Linked DNA regions of Homo sapiens: regions 1, 2, 3 and 5 are each linked to region 4. Evidence: promoter capture Hi-C in 16 types of primary human blood cells and fetal thymus (Javierre and others, 2016). All regions are on one chromosome and are shown on one strand. Each heading gives the region's core, a stretch centred on a gene start or on the middle of the fragment in contact. The rest is flanking DNA. Distances are from core to core; before and after follow the strand shown. Region 1 has its middle 5.1 kb from the start of TRY-GTA5-3. Region 2 has its middle 6.1 kb from the start of RNASE9. Region 3 overlaps LOC124903282 (a long non-coding RNA gene). Region 4 holds the start of TTC5 (tetratricopeptide repeat domain 5). Region 5 holds the start of RNASE11 (ribonuclease A family member 11 (inactive)).

What was found. The method cuts DNA at HindIII sites, captures the fragments that hold promoters and counts their contacts. A CHiCAGO score of 5 or more calls a contact.
Region 1: a contact is called between a fragment that was not itself captured here and the fragment with the promoter of TTC5 in region 4, in 5 of 17 cell types (neutrophils, naive CD8 T cells, non-activated CD4 T cells and 2 more). The highest score is 8.8, in neutrophils.
Region 2: a contact is called between a fragment that was not itself captured here and the fragment with the promoter of TTC5 in region 4, in 1 of 17 cell types (naive CD4 T cells). The highest score is 5.4, in naive CD4 T cells.
Region 3: a fragment that was not itself captured here is called in contact with the fragment with the promoter of TTC5 in region 4 in 5 of 17 cell types (naive CD8 T cells, total CD4 T cells, fetal thymus and 2 more); the score reaches 6.2 in naive CD8 T cells.
Region 5: a contact is called between the fragment with the promoter of RNASE11 here and the fragment with the promoter of TTC5 in region 4, in 3 of 17 cell types (naive CD8 T cells, erythroblasts and naive B cells). The highest score is 5.6, in naive CD8 T cells.

The regions. Positions count from the first base shown.
Region 1 is chr14:20,646,703-20,649,402 of GRCh38, forward strand. No RefSeq gene overlaps it. Among named protein-coding and RNA genes, the nearest start is that of TRY-GTA5-3, 5.1 kb to the right of the region's middle. The HindIII fragment of the contact is 5,518 bases long and covers 1-2,700 here.
Region 2 is chr14:20,565,842-20,568,541 of GRCh38, forward strand. No RefSeq gene overlaps it. Among named protein-coding and RNA genes, the nearest start is that of RNASE9, 6.1 kb to the left of the region's middle. The HindIII fragment of the contact is 1,247 bases long and covers 629-1,875 here.
Region 3 is chr14:20,707,676-20,710,375 of GRCh38, forward strand. It overlaps LOC124903282 (a long non-coding RNA gene), which reads right to left. Exons shown (of 2, transcript XR_007064061.1): 2 at 2,118-2,700. Among named protein-coding and RNA genes, the nearest start is that of EGILA, 2.1 kb to the left of the region's middle. The HindIII fragment of the contact is 3,301 bases long and covers 1-2,700 here.
Region 4 is chr14:20,304,610-20,307,309 of GRCh38, forward strand. It overlaps TTC5 (tetratricopeptide repeat domain 5), which reads right to left and starts at 1,342. Exons shown (of 10, transcript NM_138376.3): 1 at 1,278-1,342. The coding sequence starts at 1,328. RefSeq lists an enhancer at 1,248-1,487. The HindIII fragment of the contact is 10,592 bases long and covers 1-2,700 here.
Region 5 is chr14:20,586,623-20,589,322 of GRCh38, forward strand. RNASE11 (ribonuclease A family member 11 (inactive)) reads right to left here and starts at 1,379. Exons shown (of 3, transcript NM_001394190.1): 1 at 1,238-1,379; 2 at 941-1,003. It overlaps RNASE11-AS1 (RNASE11 and RNASE12 antisense RNA 1), which reads left to right and starts at 1,602. Exons shown (of 5, transcript NR_122043.1): 1 at 1,602-1,696. The HindIII fragment of the contact is 10,143 bases long and covers 1-2,700 here.

The DNA of each region.
Region 1 (2,700 bases), core at 201-2,700, 340 kb after region 4:
GCCACCACACGCGGCTAATTTTTGTATTTTTAGTAGAGACGGGGTTTCACCATGGTGGCCAGGCTGGTCTTGAACTCCTGATCTCAGGTGATCCACTGCCTCGGCCTCCCAAAGCGCTGGGATTACAGGCATGAGCCACTACGCCCGGCCAAGCCACACGTGTTTTTAAACCTTAATCAAATCTTAAGGACTAAGGAAACTGCAGAAATAGATGAGATCAAAGACAGACAATTTGTTTAAAACAAACAAGCACACAGGCTGGGCTCAGTGGCTCAGGCCTGTAATCCCAGCACTTTGGGAGGCCAAGGCTGGTGGATCACCAGAGGCCAGGAGTTTGAGACTAGCCTGGCCAATATGGCGAAACCTCATCTCTACTAAAAATACAAAAATTAGCTGGGCCTGGTGGTGCCCACCTGTATTCCCAAGTACTAGGGAGACTGAGGTAGGAGGATGGCTTGAGCCTGGAAGGTGGAGGTTGCAGTGAGCCAAGATAGTGCCACTACACTCCAGAGCAAGACTCTGTATCAAAAACAAAACAAAACAAAACAAAACAAAACAAAACAAAAAACGCTATTTGACCAGTTGACATTGGCTTTGGTATTTAGCTTATAATACTTTTTCTTTTTTTTGATACAGTGTTTTTGCTCTGTTGCCGCCCAGGCTAGAGTGCAGTGGAACACTTTCGGCTCACTGCTACCTCCGTCTTCCGGGTTCAAGTGATTCTCCTGCCTCAACCTCCCGAGTTGCTGGGATTATAGGTGTCTGCCACCACGCCCAGCTAATTTTTGGAGTTTTAGTAGAGACAGGGTTTCACCATGTTGACCAGGCCAGTCTCAACTCCTGGCCTCAAGTGATCCGTCCGCCTCGGCCTCCCAAAGTGCTGGGATTACAGGCATCAGCCACCGCAACCGACCACTTATAATACTTTCAAACTAACTTGATCATAGGAATTTCCTAGTTTTTTTTAATGAAAGTAAACCATGTTAGAAGAAAAAATTGTATTTATTTTTAAAGCATACTCACATGGTTCAAAAATAAAAATGTATAAATTGAAAAGTTCTAGTCCCCCACATTCCTATTCACCCCATCCCCCTCGCCTAATTAACCATTTTCATTAGTTCATTGGCCTCCTTCCAGTGTTTTTTGTGTATAAACAAGGAAATAACTAAATGTTTACTTATTTACTTGACACTTTCTTACACAGTTCTGCACCTTGTTTCTTCTTTTCCCCTGGAAAACCTTCCCTGTCAGAAAATAAAGAACAAAAGAAAAATGTATAAACCAAGAAGACTACTAGAATGACACATCTATTGAATGAATGAGTTGCAACATTCTTGAATTACATGTCTGCTTTAATCATTGTTTGATATCTCTTTAGCTTCAATTTTCCTTACAAGTAAAAATCATATTGTAATGGAAACTGTATCAAAAAATCTAATTGACACTTTGTAAATAAAAATGAGCTAAAGTAAAATGAAATGATATCTGGAATTTTCTTCAAAATAAAGTGAGGGCTATAGATAAAACTTTCTTGGCCATGAACTGGGAATTCATGGAGCTATATGTCAGCTATAACTGTGGTTCATTATACTATTCTCTCTATTTTTAATATGTTTGAAATGTTTCATAATAAAAAGCCTCAGAAATATGTAGTGAAAATCAAGCATCTATTTCAAGAAAACTCTAAATTTTTAGAATACGATTTTCCCAGTTAAAAATTAATAAAGGTGTGAAATACTTCCCTGAATATGGAAACTCTAGTTCCACAAAATTAACCAGCCAGCCACTGGAGAATGTCAAATACCATGTGGGCTACTCAGAGCCAGAAAATGTAAAACTATAATGAACTACCAATTCCAAGAGGAACTTAACTTTCTCAGCAACAACCTGCCTTCTGGTTCAAAAGGAGTGGAGGCAATATAGAAACACACATAAACACAGAATCACAGTCTAGAATAAGTTTTTTTGTTTTTGTTTTTTTTGTTTTTCTTTGAGGTTGAGTCTCCCTCTGTCACCCAGGCTGGAGTGCAGCGGCGCTATCTCGGCTCACTGCAGCCTTCGCCTCCCGGGTTCAAGCGATTCTCTTGCCTCAGCCTCGTGAGTAGCTGGGATTACAGGCATGAGCCACCAGGACCGGCTAATTTTTGTATTTTTAGTAGAGAGGGGGTTTCACCATGTTGGCCAGGCTGGTCTCAATCTCCTGACCTCAAGTGATCCACTGCCTCAGCCTCCCAAAATGCTGGTACCACAGACATGAGCTACCGTGCTGGGCCTATGGAGATTTGATTGAGTTAACAGATTTCAGAACCTATCTTTTTCATTATGACAAATTCTTTAATATAAAACTTAACCTTTTTTCCTTTTCTTCCTTTTTCTTTTTCTTTTTTAACACATAGGAAAACAAGACAGAGTGCTATTACCAAGTCTCGTAGTAAGAGGATGTCTTTGTTCAGGCTGCTATAACAAATTACCATAAATAGGTAAACAACAAACATTTGTTTCTCACCATTCTAGAGGCTGGAAATTTGATATCCCAGAGCCAGCATGATGGGGTTCTTGGTGGGGCTCTTTCTGGTTTATAGAGGGCAGTCTTCTTTCTGTGCCCTCACATGGAGGAAAAAAAGCTAGCTAGCTCTGTGGCCTCTTCTTATAAGAAGACTAATTTCGTTCATGAGGGCTCCAGCCTTACATGCTAATGAT
Region 2 (2,700 bases), core at 2-2,501, 260 kb after region 4:
GGAAGAATTAATATTAATAACATGTCCATACTACCCAAAGTGATCTACAGATTCAATGCAATGCCTATCAAAATACCAGTGACATTCTACATAGAAATAGAAAAGATAATCTTAAGATAAGTGTGAAGCCACAAAGGACCCTGAATAGTCAAAGCATTGCTGAGCAAAAAGAATAAAGCTGGGGGCACCATACTACCTGACTTCAAAATATACTACAAAACTATAGTAACCATTATAGCATGATACTGGCATAAAAGCAGACACATAAACCAATGGAACAGAATAGAAAACCCTAAAATAAATCCACATATTTACAGTCAATTCATTTTTGGCAAATGTGGCAAAAACATACACTAAGGAAAGAATATCCTCTTCAATAAATAGTGCTGGGGAAACTAGATATCCATAAGCAGAAGAGTAGATCTAGACCCTTATCTCTCACCATATACAAAAACCAAATCAAATGAATTAAAAACTTAAATATAAGGCCTAAAACTATAAAACTACTGAAAAAAACATTGGATAAGTGCTTCAGAATATTGATCTGGGCAAAGACATTTTGGGTAAGACCTCAAAAGCACAGGCAACAAAAGCAAAAATAGACAAATGAGATTACCTAAAGCTAAAAAGCTTCTGCATAGAAAAGGAAACATTAAGAGTGAAGAGACCACCTACAAAATAGGAGAAAATATTTGCAAACTACCTATCCGACAAGGGGTAACCAGAATACATAAGAAATTCAAACAACTCAATAGCAAAAAAAAAATTTGATTTTAAAATGGGCAATGATCTGAATAGAAATTATTTAGAAGACATACAAATAGACAACAGGTATGTAAAAAAAGCTCAGTCACTAATCATCAAGGAAATGTAAACCAAAACTATAATGTGTCGACAAAAAGAGTCAAACTCTGTAAAATACTTGAAGAGGTTTATCCTGAGCCAAATATGAGTAATCATGGTCCATGACACAGCCCACATGAGGTCCTGAAAACATGCAGCCAAGGTGGTCAGGGTACAGCTTGGTTTTATATATTTTAGGGAGGTATGAGACATCAATCAGATACATTTAAGAAATGCATCAGTTTGGTTCAGAAAGGCAGGACAACTCAAAGCGGGGGCTTCCGGGCTTTAGAAAAATTTAAACATTTTCTGGTTGACAATCGGTTGAGTTTGTCTAAGACCTGGGATCAATAGAAAGGAAATGTTCAGGTTAAGATAAAAGATTGTGGAGACCACAATCTTTTGATGTTCTTTTGAAGTCTTATAGTGGCTGCCCTTAGAGACAATAGATGATAAATGTTTCCTATTCAGGTCTTTAAAAGGTGCTACACTTTTAGATAATCTCTTCAGGATTGAGAGGGCCTGGAAGAAAAAGATCTAGCTATGTTAGTAGAGATTCTTTACAAATGCAGATTTTCCCCCACAAAGGACACTTTGCAGGGCCATTTCAAGATATGGCAGAGAAACATGTTGTGATGGTTAATACTGAGTGTCAACATGATTGGATTGAAGGATGCAAAGTATTGATGTTGGGTGTGTCTGTGAGGGTGTTGCCAAAGAAGATTAACATTTGAGTCATATGTAACAAACCTGCATGTTGTGCACATGTACCCTAGAACTTACAGTATAAAAAACAACAACAACAACAACATTTGAGTCGGTGGGCTGGGGAAGGCAGATCCACCCTTAATCTGGTGGGCACCATCTAACCAGTTGCCAGTGAATATAAAGCAGGCAGAAAAACATGAAAAGACGAGACTGGCCTAGGCTCCTAGCCTACATCTTTCTCCTGTGCTGGATGCTTCCTGCCCTTGAACATCAGACTCCAAGTTCTTCAGTTTTGAGACTCAGACTGGCGCTCCTTGCTGCTCAAGCTTGCAGACAACCTATTGTGGGACCTTGTGATCATGTAAGTTAATACTTAATAAACTCCCCTTTATATATAAACATCTATCCTGTTCGTTCTGTCCCTCTAGGGAACCCTGACTAATACAGATTTTGGTACCAGGAGTGGTTCTAGAGGAAGAGAATATTAAGGATGGAATTCTTTTATTGGTTTTGGGGTTTCTGGAGTTAGCTGCTTAATATGATTAGACCCCAAAATGCTAAGGACTGCACTTCTAATAGTATGGAAAATACTGATAGTCTTTGGCATTAACTGTTTAGAGACTTATGCAAAATAAATGCACTCGACACTCCTGATTCACCGCTCATGAGAGGCAAGGAGCTTAGTGACTCTATATATAATACCTTTGACTGTATGTGGAGAGCCAAGGAACATGATGAAGCTGTTAGTTGCTCCTAAGTTCAGTGGATAAAGTGATGAAAGAAAATTATGAACTCAAGGATTCTGTCTCTCAGCTTCAGAAGCAGATACTGAGCCTCAAATCTACTAAGATTGCTTTGAGTGAGAGTCTTATCTCCTGTAGAAAAAGAGGTGAAATTGTGAAAAAACAGACACAGACTTTTATCATGCGAGTGGCTGAACTGCCACAAAAGGGGCATGCACAGCCTTACCAGGTGTCTACTGTTAAAGTGAGGGCATTGGCTGGAATGGGACCCTGCAACTTGGAATGAGGACGTGTGGGAGGACCCTGATGAAGCTGGGGACACTGAGTTTGTAAACGCTGATGAACCATTTTTGCCAGAAGATACAGCTTTCTCATCCCCAGTAGTGGCAACATCCCCTCCCCAACC
Region 3 (2,700 bases), core at 107-2,606, 400 kb after region 4:
ATTCGTCTTTGTCACCATCCAGGTAGTCATGGGAGTTGGGACCTGTGGTATAATAAAAAATAAATTTGAACTTAGTTCCTGGTTCCTGCCACAGACCTTCTAAAATGCTTGGAATTTCCTGAGTGATAGTGTAACCAAACTAAGGGTCAGCTGATCACTGCTCACTGCTCAAAAGCAAGACTTGCAAGACAAGAGTTGGTGCAGGAAAAGCAGGTTTATTCAAGAGCTAGCAACCTGAGGAGATGGTGGACTAGCGCCTCAAAGACTATTTCAAAATTTTAGGCTAGCTAAAGGGATTTTAAGAAGTAGGAGGCATGGAAACTATGAGCAGGAGTGGTGCAGGGTGCAGGTTTGCATGTCTTACTCTGATGGCTATCTTCAGTAACGGATCACCTGGAGGTCTGGCTGGCATCACCATGACTGCAACTAGCTTATGGATTAACCCCCCTCAGTGATTTTTCTGAGAATGTAGGATTCCACAATCTCAAATTCATGCCCGGTTTATTTCAAGATTAGCCCCTGGGTTTCTTAAGCAAGGATACGGCTAGATACTGAATAAATCAAAGGGTGAGGCTATTCATTATTGAAGCAGGCTGATTATTCCAGCTACAAACTCCCCACTGCCAATTCCTGTTTCATTTCTATGGGAGATCAGGTGTCAATTTCTTTCTAGCTACTTCCTGCTGAATGAGGGCATCACTAGGGAGCTGAAGAATGGAATTTATTTACCTGGAGTTGGAAGTATTCATGCATTCCTTGACTTATGGAAGTGATTTTTTACAGCATCATTGACCTGGGAGTTAGGAGCCTTTCCAATTAAGGAAAACACAATCTTGCAATATCACACATATGGTGCAACAAGAGTATAACCCATAGAGAATATACCTATTCCTATAATCATAGCTGGAACTACTAGCAGTTTTTTCCACCAAGTAGGTCCGTATCCAAACCATGAAGATAACCACTGGTTTAGGAACATTGTGGGGTCAGACATAGCATTGATTTGTCTGTGCACGTCTTGAAGGGCTAAGGAGATGTTTCGCAAATTACCTAGGATATACACAAAACATTTAGTTTCAATTATGGGTCAAGGTCCCTCCCAGCAGCTGTGAGTACATCAAGGGCCATGTGGTTTTGCAAGACTACTTTTCCCATCATAGTCATTTCAGAGGTTACTAATGAGATGCCCTTAAATGTGTCTTTCAGCACTTGCTATAATTTGTAAGTGCCTCAATATGCCAGATGATGCTTTCTAAGCCTGCTTGGGGGAAAACAAGGGACAGGAGATGGTCGTAGGAAGGGAAAACCGGCCTGGTCCATTGGTGTAACACATCTGGAAAGTGTGCAGGCTGCCTGGTGGTTTTTGTTAATCAGCCCCGGACCTATGGGGGTCCTAACGTGCACTGCCCTATCCATCCATCAGGTAGACATGGCCGAAGATTAGTTTCACATAACTATTGAGTTCCACTGGGGACCAGCCACCAAATTTTGGGTCTGTGTCCAATCAGTGGTAAACAGGTTTGTCTAATATAGCACTAAAGAATGTTCATATTGATGTAGAGGCATCCTATCCACATTTTTAGTAACATTCGGCCAATGATTCTAAGAGTGATTCCTTTGTTCCCAACATGAAGTGGCAATTTGGGTTAAGTGACTAATAGTGGAGATCATCCAGAGGTAATCGTCCCAAATTTGATAAAAACTCACCTACCGTGTAATGGTTATTAGTAGCCAAAATCTTGGGGGCCATCTAGGAAAACTCCTTTAAGAGAGGGATTGCATACTCAGAGGTCCTTTGGATAGTCCGGTTATAATGAAGAGTTTTCCAGGATCTGGATTCTGAAGCGTTATATTAATGCCAGGCCATTTTTAAAAAATATTACCTTAAGTTACCAAGGTCCTGATTTTCCCATGAACAGTTTTTCATATACGTTTGTAAATGTATCTAATCAGTCCCCTGCAGGGGTGATACTCACTAAAGTAGCCCAGAAGTGCTAGAGATGGGTAGCAATCCACATACCCAGCAAGCATCTTAGTGTAGACTATCTGCATAATGTTATGCCCACTGTAGAAATAGACTAGTTTTAGCAGATGTCAAAAAAGTTTACTCATTATGATAAAGAATAACAGAAATTTAATCCTATAGTACAAAAAGATTTTTCTTAAGCAGTAGCTTCAGTTCTCCAGTTGGCTCACAAGTCCAACCAGGTTGATTGTCTGCTGTGTCAGGTTGGGGAGGGGCGATTTTTACCGAAATGTGATGTATGCGTGGTTTGACTCCAGCCAGCTTAACAGATGAATGAGTAGTTAATAAAACATCATAATGACCTGTCCACTTTTTGGCTGGCTGTTGTTGGTCCAGTCCTTGTTTTTACCAAGATTTTAGCGGCACTTTATCCTTGGATGAAAAGGGTGAAGGGGCTTTTTTGTAAGACACATAAAACTGGAAAGAACAAAAAGAACAAACTTGTGCAGGGTTAGTGATTTATGTCTTAGTTGTTGTACATATTGTTTAATTCTTGATTAATTTATTAAGTCCAAGGGTGGGGTCCCTGGCCAAGAACTTCAGAAGGGTCTCCCACACACAATTTCAAAAAGGCTTAATTTAAGCCCACTTCAGGGTGCTACCCCAATCCATAGCAGGGCAATAGGTAAAACCCTTTACCATTTTAAATCTGTTTCCCGATAGAGTTTTGCCAG
Region 4 (2,700 bases), core at 92-2,591:
AGATAACGGAAGTATCCTCTCCCAAGCTGCTTAGGACATTTACCACAAATGAACCTAGGAAAAGACAATTCTCATAAAAAATTACAACCAATTTCCTTTTGTCCTGCAATCAACATGGCTGCAAATTAAGAGTTTTAGAGAAGGGCTTATTGATTGGTTTTAGTTGTTAAACCAAACATTCAAGAAGTTGTTTGGTTTTATTGTTTGGTTTTGTTTTCCTCTGGACTGAATGTTTTTAGAAACTTATTTTTTCATGGCAAAATCAATACATGTAAGTTGTTAAAATTCAAATAGATACATGTAAAAAAAAGAAAGTACAAAATTACCCCAAAGAACCTCAGTGATAACCACTGATTTGTATACCTTTTCAGATTTTTTTCTGTGCATATACAAACATATATACACAAATAATGTTTCTAATATAGAACCAGAATTGAGAATCTCTGATTTCAGCCAGTCACAGTTAGGGAATAAAATGAAGTTAATCCAAATCAGCTGGAACACTCTAAAAAGTGTTACTATTTTAATGTACCCAAGAACAAAGAAATTTCACCAGTATTTAAATTTGTGCGTTAAACACCTTTAGGCAAGTTACAAGCCTGTCATAGTTCTAATATTTAAGTTACAGGCTGCCTTAGAACGAAGAACTGAGTTCCTGAGGTGTAAGGAAAATCATGGGTTCTTAAAGGCAAAGAGCCAAGCAACTAGTTAACGCCTCCCTACCAAGTCCAAAAGACTAGTCTTACCTGTGGACTATGTGGAGTCTGGACCCCTCTGCATCAGACCCCAAAGTGGAATTACACAGGTTGAAAGAAATCAAAACTGAAATCCTAAGGGGAGTAACCAGGACACTTGCAGTGCAGGTCATTAGCGTGATTGTTGCCAAATTCAAAGCAGAAAGGTGTTAAATGGCTTTTGTAGGGATCAAAACAACATGTGACAGTAGTTCATGCAGATCTGCCACACACATGTATATGCTATTCGCTATGGATGAATCGAGAAAACAACGTCCTCTCTAAAAATGTACATGAACAGTTAGGAGCAACAAATCTTCTTCCATACAGGACTGAAATTAACCGCAGTCAGGTCGGCAGCAGGAGGTTCCAACGAGGCTCCCTGGCTGGCTGCGGCTGCACCCTCGAGGGTTGTTATAGTAACCACACAGACGCACGCAGCTTCGCGTGTGTGCCGAGGAATTCACGGGCAGTACATAAACTGGACTCCCTGCTTCATTCGGAGTAACAAAAACACATACAGAATTTAATCTACGGCCCCACCTGCAATTTCTGCAAGATCGGCTTGACTTCTTCCTCTTCATCAGCCATCATCTCCCGGCCACTCCACCCCCAACTTTATAACCACAGAGACGCACGCCCTCTCTCACCGCGGAACCACAGCGACATCTGGCGTTCTGGAGGCTTTTCTGCCCCAGAAGGGCTTTGCTTCAAACCGACTTAACCATTTATTTCCACAGAGATGCTCTACAATCACTTGTGAGTTCATAAACTTCTTTCTTTCCCAGATCCTGGAAACAAAATGTCCTCAGCTTAATTTCTATATTCTTGTTTCATGTCTTCCTACTTATTTATACTAAGATTATAATACTCCATAAAGAAGAGAGTTTAAGAAGTGCACACCTGTGTTGTTTGAAATTTCGAAAGCCATGTAGTACAATAGCTACTTTACTCAATCTTTTCCAAACTTTGCAGTAATTTTCTATGTATGATTAATTTTATCATTTTAATGCACTATCTTAATAAATACTACACTTGGGATGGCTCATAAAAACCACCATGCTCTACACTAACAATGCCTCCATATTTATAGACAACATCCAGAAGGATATATAAGAAAGGATGACTGTCTCTGCAGAGGGAAACACAGAAACTGGGGAACTGTGGGTGAGCGAAGAAAATTTTCACTGCCTGCCCTTTTGAATTTTCTTGCCATCTATATGTATCACCTATTCAAATATAAACATTTTTAAATAAAAAATTATTTGCTTCTACATAGTCTCTGGAAAGAGACACAAGACACTGGCAAGACTATCGCTTACAAAGAGCAGAAGTGAGTGGCTGGAGCAAAAATGAGTGACCAGGGAACTGGGGTAGACTTTTCACTCTATGCCTTTTTTGTAACTTTAAAGTTTGTACCTTGTGAATATATTAAACTTCTGAATAAATCTTTTAAAGTGTCATGTAATATTCCTGGCAGTTTTGCTTTACTTTTTTAGTTTTAATTACAGCTTCAAGCTGATTCTGTGAAACTAACAAAGAAGTAAAACGTTCAAGGCAGAAATCATGAATATACATAAAATCATTTCCTCAAATCATTTTCCAACATAAAGGAAATAGTTTGTATTGTAACCTATAAAATCTATGTCGTTAGCTGTAAAATAGGGAGGGATGTTTTAAAAATTTTTTTTTGAGATGGAGTCTCACTGTGTAGCCCAGGCTGGAGTGCAATGGCGCCATCTCGGCTCACTGCAACCTCGGCCTCCCAGGTTCAAGCGATTCTCCCGCCTCAGCCTCCCGAGTAGCTGGGGCTACAGGTGCATACCACCACGCCCGGCTAATTTTTTGTATTTTTAGTAGAGACGGGATTTCACCGTGTTAGCCAGGATGGTCTCGATCTCCTGACCTCATGATTCACCCGCCTCAGCTTCCCAAAGTGCTAGGATTACAGGCGTGAGCCACCACA
Region 5 (2,700 bases), core at 129-2,628, 280 kb after region 4:
AGAAAGGATGAGGGATTTATAGGGAATTTATTTTGTTTCCTAAACTTCTATATCCTATACCATTGACATCAGTAGTGAGGTGACAATAGGGAAACAGAAAGACCAGGAGGAGAAAGATAAACAGGAAGAAGAGCAGGGCAGAAATTTCCAGTCTTTCTGAGACATATATTTCAAGTGGGCAGCATTCACAGCTGCCTAGGTTTTATTTGAAACTGCTAAGAGGTGCCCTTTAAAAAAATATACCTGGCTGGGCACAGTCACTCATGCCTGTGGTCTCATTGCTTTGGGAGGCCAATGCGGGAGGATCACTTGAGGCCAGAAGTTCAAGACCAGCCTAGGCAACATAGTGAGAATCCATCTCTACAACAACAACAACAACAAAAAGCCAGTTGTGGTGGCATATGCCTATAGTCCCAGCCACTCGGGAGGCTGAGAGGAGAGGATTTCTTGAGCCCAAAAGTCTGAGACTGCAGTGAGCTGTGATCACACAACTGCACTCCATCCTGGGCAACAGAATGAGACTCTGATCCTATATATCTGTATAATATATATGTATATACATATTTAGATACAGATAGATAGATATAGATACACACACACCCAAACTACGAATGTCTAAAATGTCACAATTCATTTGAATTTGGTGTTGATCCCTATTGAATGAAATTACTCTGAGGATACATCCTATTGGTTCATCTCAGTTATACTTTTATCTGCAAGATATTTTTAATTAGAAAGGAGGAGCTTCGGTGAAGAAGGGGAGAAAAAGCACTGAAAAGGAAAGAAAAGACAACAAAACCTAGGGAGAGGGATAGAAAAAGGAATCAGAATTCAGAAAATAGATGTAGGAACCTAAAGGATGCATTTCATCCACTTCAAAGTTTTGCCCAAAAAATGATGCTACCAAGGCCCAACAAATCATGTGCTAGGGACCACCTACCTGTTCCTGTTCAGTTTCTATTCAGATGCTGAGGGCTCTGTTTACCTGGTGACACCCAAAATTCTATGGAGACAACAATGACAACAGAATTACCACAGAGAACTAGAAAATGAAACTCAGCTGAAAAACGGCCACCTAAGATGGAAGAAGCCATGAGATGAGTAAGCGTTGCCTACTCACAAGGTTGCAAACTGTCCTTCACTTACGATTATCCCCCAACGCCCCCTCCTAAATCTGATCAATCGCATGGAACTTGATGGTTACAAAAGACAGAGCTAACAACTAGCGTAAGTGCACCTTCTTCTTTGACATGACCTTGAACTAAGTCCAAATGAGCAATGAACAGCTGAAGTCTCTCAACTGAAAAGATCAGGACAGAGAGTGCTCTCCAAAGCCTGTGACCCACCCATGCCTGCTCTAGGTCACTGTATGAGTCTCTAGCTCTCACATACAGGATTGAAATGCCATAGCTCAGAATTAGTGACAACATAATCTGGCCTTTATTTGCCAATTGCCCCTTATTTCTTACTACCTCACAATACAAATTCTCCCCTCCAACAATGGCTATAATATAGCCATTTTCTGTACTACTTAAGAAATAGAATTATAGACTAATAGACTTGGAAAGAACTTGAAAGATTATCTAATTCAAGATCCTCACTTTACAGACAAGGAAACTAATGAATAGAGAAGAAGAGGACTTCATGAAATCCCCAGAATTAGAAATCTCTCTTTCTCGTCCTTCTCCTTCTAGCTGTAAGGATACTATGCCCATAGCTGAATGTGGGGAAACTAAGCAGTAAGTCCAATTGTAAGAACTAAAAAGAGAAAAGAGTTAGTAGTCCGGCTCAAAGTCCTCTCTGTTCCTTCTGGAGACACAAAGAGGAGGTCACTGAGCTCTGAAAGTCTCAATCCCTCCCTGGGAAATCCTTATCTGTGTCTCTCTAAAGTCTTTAAGGGAAATGGTTTCAGACCAGTCAGGCTCCTTTCTTTATTTCAAGACACAAAGGGAGCTGCTGAACAGGAACAGATGCTGCCTGAGTTGTATATGCTATCTTTAAAAAAGACCCTAAGAGGTGACCTCTGTTGCTTCTACAGCTAGAAGCAGAGCTAGGATTAGGCTGAGGTTAATGAGACACTCACTCTAAGACCAAAATTTAAGAGAGTGCCACAAAACTCAATAATCAAGATAAATAATATTTTAATGCAACAATTTTAGAAAATATTTATTTATTTATTTTTGAGACAGAGTCTTGCTCTGTTGCCCAGGCTGGAGTGCAATGGCATGATCTCGGCTCACTGCAACCTCCACCTCCCAGGTTCAAGCGCTCCTCCTGTGTCAGCTTCCCAAGCAGCTGGGATTACAGGCGTGCACCACCACACCCAACTAACTTTTGTATTTTTAGTGGAGAGGAGGTTTCACCATGTTGGCCAGGCTGATCTCAAACTCCTGACCTCAAGTGTTCCACCTGCCTCAGCCTCCCAAAGTGCTGGGATTACAGGCATGAGCCACCACGCCTGGCCAGAAAATAAATTTAATGCAAAATAATCCCTGATGAACAAATGTTAAAATTTTAAATACCAGGATCTGGCCCTGCACTACGTTTCTCACATAACTCATCTTACCCTGATCCTAGCCTTGTCAGATTGGATCTTCAAAATTTTGTGATAGATATTTTGAGCATCCAAGATTTCTTTTTTTTTTTTTTTGAGACGGAGTCTCACTCTGCCGCCCCGGCTGGAGTGCAGTGGCGCGATCT